2 separate regions of the Homo sapiens genome follow, and region 1 is linked to region 2. The links are contacts of gene promoters, found by promoter capture Hi-C in blood cells and fetal thymus (Javierre and others, 2016). All regions are on one chromosome and are shown on one strand. Each heading gives the region's core, a stretch centred on a gene start or on the middle of the fragment in contact. The rest is flanking DNA. Distances are from core to core; before and after follow the strand shown. Region 1 holds the start of LOC105370216 (a long non-coding RNA gene). Region 2 holds the start of PRR20A (proline rich 20A).

Region 1 (6,004 bases), core at 541-3,040, 75 kb before region 2:
AGAAGGGATGAGAATAGTTTAGCCCTGAGTAATGCACAGTAAAAAAGAAATTTTGATCTGATGGTTTCTGTGGTTGATTGTGGTCGTGTCTTTTAGGACACTAATGATCCATATGTGGGAACTGTAGTATACCACTTTACCGCCCAAACACTGGTATATGAAACAACAGAAATAGTTTCAGACTGATGGGGTTATAGGAGAAGTATTGCCCAATTGACAGCTGTTTTCCGTAAAAGCAAAGAAAGAAAATGTAATTTAAAATATTATAGATCTAGACATATAGAAAAGTTTACTATAATAATAATAAAGTAGTGAAAGGTATGAAGAAAGCAGTGAAAGATGGAGGATTGGATTGGACTGAGAAATGTTTAGAAAAAATATTTTAGGTTGGATTGAAGGGATGGTTCTTCTGTCAGGGACTGGGGTTGGCATAACTTTGAGGAAAAATGAACTAATTTTGCCAGTCTGAGATGATAAAGGATAAACGGGCCGATTGCTATGTCCCTAATAAATTCCCTCAGCTATAGCGGCATCTATATAGAGGCTCTTTAAAGCTTCATGATACTCATACACAGAAAATAACTTCTTAATGTTTTTTGTTTCCGAACTGGTTATTTCAGTGAAGGTTAAATGCTGATAAGTGTTGTTTATAACAATAAAAAAATCATAGAAATCAAAAGACTCAAAGCAATGGGTTTCTCATGATGTATATTCACAGTCTAAACAGGCAGTGTATTAATTTTCTAGGGCTGGCTTAACAAAATACTGAAGATTATGTGGATTAAACAATGTGTTTAATTTATCATAATTCTGGAGTCTGAAAATATGAGATCAAGGTGTTGGCAGGGCTGTTGGTGTTTTGTTTCTTCTTTACTTGGCTTGCAGATGGCCATCTTCTCACTGTCTCTTCACATGGTCATCTCTGTTTCTGCACGTGTGCCTGCTGTCTCTCTGTGTATCCAAATTTCCTGTTTCTATAAGGGCACCAGTGGCATTGGACTGGGACCCACCCTAAAGACCTCATTTTAACTTAAGCACTCCTTCAAAGACACCGTCTCCAAACATGGCCACACTCTGAGGCACTGGAGGTTACGACCTCAACATATGAATTTTGGGGAGAAGCAATTCAGCCTCAAACAGAAGGATGAGGTTGATATGATTCTATTTAACCGTCATTCCATATGGGTGCCTTTTATAACGGTAGAATTTTTTTTTTTTTTTTTTTGACGGAGTCTCGCTGTGTCACCAGGCTGGAGTGCAGTGGAGCGATCTTGGCTCACTCCGCCTCCCAGGTTCAACCCATTGTCCTGCCACAGCCTCCTCAGTAATTGGGACCACCAGCGCGCGCCACCACACCCAGCTAATTTTTGTGTATATATTTCTTTTTTTAGCAGGGGCGGGGTTTCACCATGTTAGCCAGGATGGTGTCCATCTCTTGACCTCGTGATCCGCCTGCCTGCGCCTCCCAAAGAGCTGGGATTACAGGCCTGAGCCACCGCGCCCGGCCGTACAGTTTGTATTCTAACACCAACTCATAAGGTAGGTGATGTGCAAAGACTGCAATATATCTAAGGAGGGTGCCACTATTGCAGTTGATATTTTGCTCTCTTAGCACTTCCAGAAAATGCAGCAGGAAGTATAGGCAACTTGCATAGACAGAATATGTGGTGTTTCATTTATTATAGCCAAGATAAAACTGTAAACAACTTCGAGAGTGTGTGTATATATAAATATACACATGTAATTCAACCTATCATAGTGTTAAAGAAAAATAGAACATAAAAAGGAAGTAAAATTTGAAGAAATGTAATATATATACAACAGAAATATCATCTTCACTGTATAATCGTAAATTATTTTTGTTTTATCATAATACAATATTGTGTTTACATTTAGTAGAGGGTAACATTTGGGCATAATTTCAACTCTGTGTAAAAATTCTAATACCACCTCACATCTCATGTTAAAATTTCTTATATAACATTATTTTTATTGCTTGGTACTTTAAAAACAATATCCATACTTTCAGGTAAAACTTAAAGGTAAAACAAGCAATGAAAATAGAACAATAATTTTAAAAAATCCTACCTGATCTCATCATCTATGTAAAACACTTTTCACCCAAAAGTTATTTTCTCTAAACTTTAAGTGATTTCAGCACACTCTTGGTTGCCTACTTACTATTTCTTTGAAGTTCACATATAAATCCATTTACCTTGAGTATAATAATCGATAATCAAAATGAATGACCTGAGTTGGGAACATAGAACCTTTGTAGCTCTGCATAGCCAGTCAAATTAAATTCCATCAGTACTAAAACAAACAAAAATAAGACTATTGGAACTAAATTCTTTCTTATTATTCACTAATTCATTTGTTCAAACCATGCTTGCCTTTCTTCTGCATGTTCCTTGTAATACTTCTTTCTTGCATATTCTACCATATTAGACTTTTGCAACTTTGAACTTCTTGTCTCCCCACTCACCCTTGCACCACACCAAGAATATAAAATCTGAATACGTTTTAAAAAATTATTCCTATTTTATTGCTCAACTAGAACATATTATCTCATTTTAGTCACAAAAGACTTGCACATATGTTGTATATACTCCAAAAAAAAAAAAAAAAGAAAAACTTTTAAGTTTTCCTGATTCTCATCACTCACAATCTAGGTAACAAATCAGTCTTCCTGACCAAAGATGGATATGTTGCCAGATATATGAATTATCTCCACTAGTTTTTCTGTAGTATTTACTTCTCGTGCAGGTATCAGTTGTGTGTCATATTACTTTCCTTTTGTTCTGTCTTCGACAGCTCTTAAAAATCATATTATTATATCTACCAAAGTATTTTTCATGTTTTGCTTTCCCTCCTTTTCTTTAATTTTATTTTCTAATACCTTTGGTGTTCTGCATGTAATTTTTATCTGCTTTCTTTTCACTGGAAACTTTTTCAGTTTTAGCACATATTTACCTTAAGAATTAAAATATACCACAATCCTGAATGGTAATTTAAGAGAAGCTTAAGATAAATTAATGATCAATTAATATGTGATTTAAGTCATTGGTATTGCTGTGAAATTATTACTGGTAAAAAACCAATGCAGCCAATGTTCATCAAAGACACTGATATTTTAAAAATTTAATTCAGATTACCCTTAAAATTGTGTGTTTATGTTCCAGGGTTCATAATAATATTTATATATGTTTTCTCAAATCAGCATTTAAGATTCATAAATACTTATAATTCAGTGAAATTTTTAATTAGGATTTTTAGGAGCTTTCCTATATTTTTCATTATCAATAAACAGTATGTCATTTAAGTATATAAGCCATTAAACATTAAACACTGGAGAGCTAACCAGTTTATTAAATCAGAATCTATTACAATTCCATACCAAATTCTAACAAACCCATCTACAATTGAGGATGAGGATTGGCTTAATTAAGATATTGACATGGGTGTTAAAATATAGCTATATTTTTATCTACACGTGTTGTTTTAGATTTTATTAGTCAAAATATGTTTTTTCTTTCTCTTCTGGGTTCTGTCCTGTCCCACTGATATAAGCCTTTACTATGCAACTTGCTTTAATGGAATGTGTGTGCTATTGGCCATTGGGAGTGTGAGCCATTTCCAAATACTGTATTTTATGTCATATGACCAGGTTTTTATTTATTTATTTTTCCTTTTCTTGGACACAAGTTTCATATGTTTGACCAAATAAAGGAGCTACTCTAAGTTGCAGACTATTTAGGTTTACATCGATTATTATTTGTCTCTATTTTAGCTTTATTTTTAATTGATGAATAATGATTGTATATATTTAATGGATATGATGTGAAGGCTTCAATACATTTATACATTGTGAAATAATCAAATCAGACCAATTACCATATTCATCACCTCAGCTATTTATCATTTCTTTGTGATGAGTAGATTCAAAATTCTTCCTTTTAGCTATTTTGAAATATAAAATAGATTATCATCAACTCTCATGACCATGCTGTGCAATAGAACACCAGAACTTACTCCTCCAATCTCACTGAAACTTTCCACCTGTTGACCAGTTTCTCCCCTTTCCCTGTCCACATCCTGCCCCCAGCCTCTGGTAACCATCATTCTACTCTCCACTTCTATGAGTTTGAATTTTTAAATTACACATATAATGAAATCATATAGTATTTGTCTCTCTTATTATTTAATTATCATAAATAATCCATATAGTTCAGAATTCATATACCTCATATAAATGCCAACATTAACAGTTTTATACAGTTTCACTCAACATAATATCCTCTAGGTTGACCTATGTTGTTTCAAATGACAGAATTTTCAGTTTTTTAAGGCTGAATATTCTGTATATATGCCACAGTTTCATATACATTGGAATGTGTATATATACACATTAGGTTTTTCCATATTTTGGCTATTGTGAATAATTCTGCAATGAACATAGGAGTGCAGACATCTCTTCAACAAGCTGATTTCAATTCCTTCAGGTATATACCCATTCATCAATAATTGATGAATGTAAAAAGTCATAGTAAATGGAAACTTTGCAGAAGGTGACTTTGAATATGTAGTTTGGCTGATCATTTTCCCACAAACTGCTTAAAACTGTTAATGTTGGCATTTATATGAGCTATATGAATTGTAAACTGTCTGGATTATTTAAGATAATTATATTTGAAAACATTTATAAAAATATTAAAAACAACATTTTGTTTGTGTTGATTAAACAAACTCTGTTACCTTTTCATCGGATTTTATTGTAATATATAATTAAAATTTGAGTTATTTCATAATTAATTCATCTTGTTAAATTAAAAATAGTGCTTGTTATATTGTTTTTCATAGTACTTACTCTTAATTTTAATGCCAGACCATCTCTTATGAGGAAGCATGAGTGAATAATGTTCTTGTGCTTTCTTGACTCTAGGGAATAAACCAGGGTTACAAGTGTTGCTGCCTCACCATGGACATCCCACAGGACAATCCACTGAACAAATAACCCTTTTGTGTAGATCCAGGATACTTTTCACTTCCTAAACATAAATCCCACCACATCTGTTCAACCAGCTCTGCTCCAGGATAAAAAAATATATATTGATGAATTTCCAGCCTTGTTTCATATTCTGTTGTTCCCGGCAGCAGATTTATTTTTTATAGTTGTAAACCGCCAAGTCATTTTTTGGTGCTGTCTTTTGTTTTATAAAGTCTTCCCTATAAAGACAAACTACAGAGCATTATCAAGATTTTCTGTTAAATTGTAAAGTTCTTTAGACTTAAATTTAAATTAAGATATATTCTTTAAGTACAAATGATATTTTTAAATTTATCTAAGGGCCTGGTGGAGTATGAAGACAAAAAGAAAGAAAACTCTTAAAGAGGGTCACCTTCACTGATATTGGCAAATCCTTGTGTTTTCTGTCTGAAAGATGATTCATGAATGTTTTGCATCACTTTCCTTTAGAGAAAGAGTGCATTCTTAAAGCATAAACAATACCTATTACAAAGCAGCTTCAGTTTTTTTGTACATTAAAATATATATATAATATTTGTATATATTGTTCTAAATCCCTTGCTCATTCTGAAAAAGTTTTTTTTTCTGACTTGTTTACAATGACTCTCTTTGTTTTTTTACTGAAATCAAGTTAGTACTATCTTCCAAATGACTAGTGTGTAGAGGGAAATTTATAGCACTAAATGCCCACAAGAGAAAGCAGGAAAGATCTAAAATTGACACCCTAACATCACAATTAAAAGAACTAGAGAAGCAAGAGCAAACACATTCAAAAGCTAGCAGAAGGCAAGAAATAACTAAGATCAGAGCAGAACTGAAGGAGATAGAGACACAAAAAACCCTTCAAAAAATCAATGAATCCAGGAGCTGGTTTTTTGAATAGATCAACAAAATTGATAGACCGCTAGCAAGATTAATAAAGAAGAAAAGAGAGAAGAATCAAATAGTTTAGAAGATTTTTTAACATTTAATATTATG
Region 2 (5,604 bases), core at 2,037-4,536:
GCACGCCAGGTGTTTGTAAAAGCGAGCCACAAACGATGCTCTCAATGTACACGTTTGTTGGTGTAGACTTGTGTGACTATGGGGAAAGATGCGATATGAATGGAGAACAGAGACTGGAGCCATTTTTCTACCTTCCTTTCTGCTTTTAGTAAACACATTTTGTATTTGCGATTTGTGAAAGTTTAGTGAAAGAACTGTTCTATAAAATAAGTCTGAAGAGAAAGGTTTATTTAGAAGGATTGAGTACACAAGAGAAAAATCTTTGATGTAAAAAGTTATCTGTATTTTATTTGGACGTTTACAAAGGAGTGAAAACCAGCCAACAACAGCCTACCTAATAAAATACAAAATACAAAAGTTCATAATACAACATTTATCAAACTCTGAAAAGATGGGAACTAACTCAACTTAAACATCTAAGAGACACCTACAGCCAACATCTTGGTTAATGGTGAAACATTCAAAATATTCCCATTAAAGCCAGGAGGAAGCCAAGGACACTGCCGTCAAATTACTGATTCCTGGTTTAGCGGTTCCAGTGAGTCATGCACTCTCCTTGCTTCCGTTAACCGCCCCCCCCCCCACCCCAACACCTTTTGTCTGATTCGTCACATGTCCTTTGATCCCCTTTTTCCTCAATCTGTTTGAAATTTTACCTTCTATTCCAATTCATTTAGTGGTTCCCAAAGGGTACCCACGTTGAGACTTAAAAATGTGTCAGTCTAGATTTTTATTGCTCTTATATTCAGCCAGTCTATCGTCTCCAGGCACTAGAGAAGCACTTTAGTAACTTCTAGCTCCTTCTGAGTTTTCGCATGTCCCACATGTCTATATGAGTGTCTTCTGGAATTTTAATTCTAGGTCATCAATCCTTTTTCCAGAATCGTACTTCTCTGGACTTAAGAATACAGTTTCCTAATTTCCATGCTTAGTGATCCTTGTTGCATCCCACTTCTTCCAGGTTGTCTGGGTTGGCTTCTTCTTGGCTGAAAAACGTGACGTGTACTTTCACTGTACATGACAGTTCCATTCCAATCGCCTTGTACAGAAAGGGTGTTTGGCAGCTTGCATGTTGTAAGTTGCGTACTCCAAGTTCAGGGGAAGCTCAGGCTTCAGGTCCAGTCGGGGGAGGAGTGGAGCAGAAGTGGGGCTGGGGGGAACGTCCAGGTGGAAGGAAGGGAGGCTGGGAACAACGTGGGTGGCAGATAGTGGTCAATACGCAATGTCGGTGAGGAACACTGGGACCCCTTGCACGTAGGTGCCCTGGGGGGTTTGAATGACTTGTAAAACCGCTGAGTCACCCAGAGCCCTAAACCCGATGCAGGGATAGAGGGTCAAGACGGGTTGCCAGTCAACAGCCTGAGGCCCAGGAGCAGCGGGCGGCTCCTGAAACCCCAGCTCAGGTTGCGCCACGTCGGGGCCAGGGCCTTCCTGCACAGTTCCAGGCGGAGGACCTGTTTCAGAAAGGGAGAAGGCTGCGGTCTCCGTGATTTCCGGTTCCCCCTGGTGGCCTGGCTCTCCATGGTGGTCCAGTTGGATGTGCACGTCCGGTGCCATCAAGCCTTCTGCCCCCTGTCTCTGGCCAGCGTCCCCGCGGGGCCCAGCCCTTCTGCCACGGCCTCGCCCTGGCCGCCGGCTTCCTCCCCGGCGCCGGCCTCTCTCTGCAGGAGGGGGTGACTCTGGGCGAGCTGGGGGCTGCCGTCTGAAGGGTTTCACGTAAGCGATGGGTTTTGCGGGTTGGGCTGGCTGTGCGGGCCCATCTGCTTCCACGGAGCCTTCAGGGTCCGCAACACAGCAGCCTGGCTCTGGAGGAGGCCCACCTGAGGCTAAAAGAGAAGCGGAGCGTGAGCAGAGAGAGACAGAAGGAACTTCACCCGTCAAGCAGTTATAGGATACTTTTACAAATAAATACTCAGAGAAAAGAGGGATTTCTGAAGTTAAAATTGTGAGAGAAGAAACAAAACTCTCCACGGAAGTTGGAGAATGAAGTTGAGAAGGTCTCCCACAGAACAAAGCAAAAACCTAAAATGATGGAAAGAAGGATGAAATATAAGAGAATTAGAGGTATGCTGTGGCTGAGACATTTCACCAGAAAATTTCAGAGTGCTGAGGAAAAAGAGAAGATTCTAACAGATTCTAGAGAGCGGGAGACAGAGAAAGGAAAAGTCACATGGAAAGGGCTAGGATTCCACATGTCTCAAAAGTCAGACATCTCAAAAGCAGCAGTTCAGTCTAGAACATAACAGAAAATGTCTTCGAAATTTCAAGGGAAATGAATTTCCCACCTAAAATTTCCTGTCCAACCGAAGTTTCGCTGAAGAATCTGGGAGGGGAGAATGAAGATGTTTCAGACAAGCAAGATGTTAAAGAATTTCCTTTCAGTGGATGCTTTATTGTTATGCATCTGTCAAACTAGACAAGATTAAAAGATTTAGGACACTCAGCGTATGAAGGGAAAAGTTTTGGAGAACAACGTGGCAACAGCCGGAAAATTCCAACTCCTCCGGGAAAGAACAAGGTGGAAGTACCGGTTTATCATAGATCAAGACGTAGCGTGAGGACTCGCTCTGCTACGGAGAAACAGTAATACAAAACTAAACAGAAGGAAACAGCGACAACAACAGCAAATCTCAGATTTGGGAAATGGGATTACGGTTCGGAAGAGGGAAAGGAATTTCCCAGATGATGTGGAACCCGGGAGCTGACTTCCAACAAGCAGCCCAGGTTGAGGCAGGCTAGGAGAAGGTGAAACAGAGAATGCTTGATTGAGTTTGAGTGTCAACCATTGGGGAAGAATTGGGGAACAGACGAAATTAAAAAGAGAGGAGTGGCAGGCGTTTGATGTACCTTGATTAGGGGCCATGGAGCGAAGTCGCTTCGAAGGCCTTGGTTCCTCCATGAGCAATCGGCGGGAGGGGCTGGGGAGAAAAACAAGAGAGCAAGAACGGATTTAGGAAGACAGAGGTGACAAGGCAGGGGGATGGCCGTGGCCTTTCTAGGGGAATGAGGATTCTGTCCCCAACTGCACCCACCCGAGATCCGTCCACGCCTCCGGGACCCCCAGACACACACCTGATCTTCCCACAGCTGGCTCCGGAGATCTGAAAATTAGGAGACTCTTCGACGAAGAGAGGCCCGAGGAGTCGGAGGTGTCCACAGGTTCACCGCTGTAGCTCTGAGGTAGTCCACCCGCAGCCAGGGAGTCTGGAGGGAGCACGCAGCAGGTTCTGGCTCCGAGCCCAGCAGAAAGCCGACTGCTGGAGGCCGAGCGCCGTCCCTCTTATATGGCAGCAAGGCAGTCGCGTAAGGGACAGGCGTCGTCAGAGGGGGGCCGGCTGGGGCGGGCCTGGCTGGGCTTGCGAGGCGCATTGGGCCAGTCCCCTGCCAGTCAAATGGGGGCCCTTCTGAGATGCCGCCATTTCTAGACGTCCGTGGTTGATTGATTAATCTAATCATCGAGGAAAAAAAATTGCATAATGACCTCTGAGTGTCAGCACAATGAGGTGTGGTGCCCTGAAAGCGGCTGACAGGAAGATGCGATTAGCTTAGATCTGAGCATGGTCAAGGAAAGCATCCAAAGCGGGGATATCTGGGCTGAAATCTGGAACATAACGTTTGAAATTAGTCATCCTGAACCGGGTTGGGAGAGGCAGGGAGGGAGGAAGGGGAGTGAAGAGAGTGTGCTGAGGCCCGGACTGGAAGGGAGCCCGGCACATTCTGGGAATGGACGGGAGGCCAAGTCCAGGCCCGGAGGTGGTGCGTGTGAGACGGGGCTGGAGATGCGTGTGAGACCCACACCGCTGGCTTTTATTGCTGTGGGTGCACTCACGGGTGGAGGAAGACAGCGGGAAACACAGCAGGACGCTGGAGGGGATCCCACAGTGGGTTATTTGGTTGGTTTGCATCCTTGTGTTTTTTACAGAGACTGGTTCTCGCTCTGTAGCCCAGGCTGGAGTGCAGCGGTGCCATCTCGGCTCGCTGCGGCTACTTGGGGGGGTTGGGGGGGGGTGGCTGAGATAGGAGAATCAGTTCAAGTGATTCTCCTGTCTCGGCCTCCGGAGTAGCTGGACTACAGGTGAGCGCCACCACATCGGGATAATTTTCGGATTTTTTTGGAGAGACGAGTTTTCGCTATGTGCCCAGGCTTGTTTGGAAGGCCTGAGCTCAAGCCGTCCGTCCCGCTCAACCTCCCGAGTCGCTGGGACCCCAGGCGCAAGCCACCATGCCGGGCCAATTACTTTTTTGGGTTGTATTTCCTGTTGAAGTGAGGTTTTGCTATGCTTTCACCTCACATACCTTTTCTGTCCCAAGACCCCATCCAGGGTACCACCTTACAACTCGTCACGGTTCCCCTTGGCTGCGACGGTTTCTCACACTTGCCTTGTTTTTGATGACTCTGACACTTTGAATACTGATCAGATATATTGTGGGATGTCCTCTCCTGAAGTTCGTGTGATGTATTCCTTGTGATCTGACTGGAATTATATGTTTTTGTCAGGAAGATTGCAGCGGGAAAGCGCCATTCCCATCCCATCCTGTCTAGAGTACACACCATCAAGCCGGCTTATCACTGCTGCTATTAGTCCTGGTCACCGGGCTGGGGCAGTGTTGATTAGGTTTCTCCACCATAAAGTGATTTTCCCACCTCTTTCTCTACTGTGCTTTCTGGAAGTCGCTACCTGTAGCCTATACGTAAAGAAAAGGGAAGTTTTGCTTTATCTCCTTGCAGGGGAATAGCTACCTAAGTTCTGTGGAGTTCTCCTGTGTGGAGGATTTTCCCATTCTCCCCCACATGTTTGTTTATTTAATCACTTATTTATATCCGTATGGACTTATGGACACCTATTGTATGCTTTGGTTTACACTCCAGTACTTCAGGGGATGAATTATTTAATAATTGAACTAATTATTTTGTCAAGTATTTTACTTAACTATTTAATTATTAATTATTTAGGTAATTACTTTGTTACTCAATGTTTCCAGCTTTGGCCACCGGGAGCTCCTTTAGTTGGCTTCCGTGTCCCTTTGTCAACCTCCCATCTCAGCAAACTAACACAGGAAAAGAAAACCAAATATCACATGTGCTCACTCATAAGTGGGCGTCGAACAATGTGAATACATAGACACAGGGAGGGGAATATCACACACTGGGGTCTGTGAGGGACTGGGAATCTAGGGGAGGGAGACTATTAGGAGAAATACCTAATGTAGATGATGGGTTAATGGGTGCAGCAAAACATCATGGCACCTTTATACCTATGTAACAAAGCTGCACGTTCTGCACATGTATCCCAGAACTTAAAGCATAATTTAAACAAAAATTAAAGAAAAAAATTCCCTCACCCCTGCTCCACCCATCCCACAATCCTTCAACTTTTGTATCAGTGGCGAGAAGTGTTCCTCATGCAACATTCAGTTTCCTGCTTGGAAGGAATCCTCTATCCTGTGAATATCCCTCCAGAGATAGCACGTTCTTAATTCAGGGGATGCAAGGGCACACACAGAGTTGGGAGGTGGAAGACATGATGGATAAGGTGGATGGGGTAGTGAAGATGGCATGGAAGACTATACGGTATTTCATATATACTTGATAAATCTATATAT

The links. Contacts are between HindIII fragments. The CHiCAGO score rates a contact against its expected background, and 5 or more counts as called.
Region 1: a fragment that was not itself captured here is called in contact with the fragment with the promoter of PRR20A in region 2 in 4 of 17 cell types (fetal thymus, total B cells, M2 macrophages and 1 more); the score reaches 9.1 in fetal thymus.

What each region holds. Positions count from the first base shown.
Region 1 is chr13:57,212,166-57,218,169 of GRCh38, reverse strand. LOC105370216 (a long non-coding RNA gene) reads left to right here and starts at 1,440. Exons shown (of 2, transcript XR_941982.1): 1 at 1,440-1,539; 2 at 4,943-5,123. The HindIII fragment of the contact is 2,467 bases long and covers 557-3,023 here.
Region 2 is chr13:57,138,600-57,144,203 of GRCh38, reverse strand. It overlaps PRR20A (proline rich 20A), which reads right to left and starts at 3,286. Exons shown (of 3, transcript NM_198441.2): 1 at 3,073-3,286; 2 at 2,848-2,918; 3 at 265-1,826. The coding sequence starts at 2,899. The coding sequence ends at 1,213. The HindIII fragment of the contact is 41,430 bases long and covers 1-5,604 here.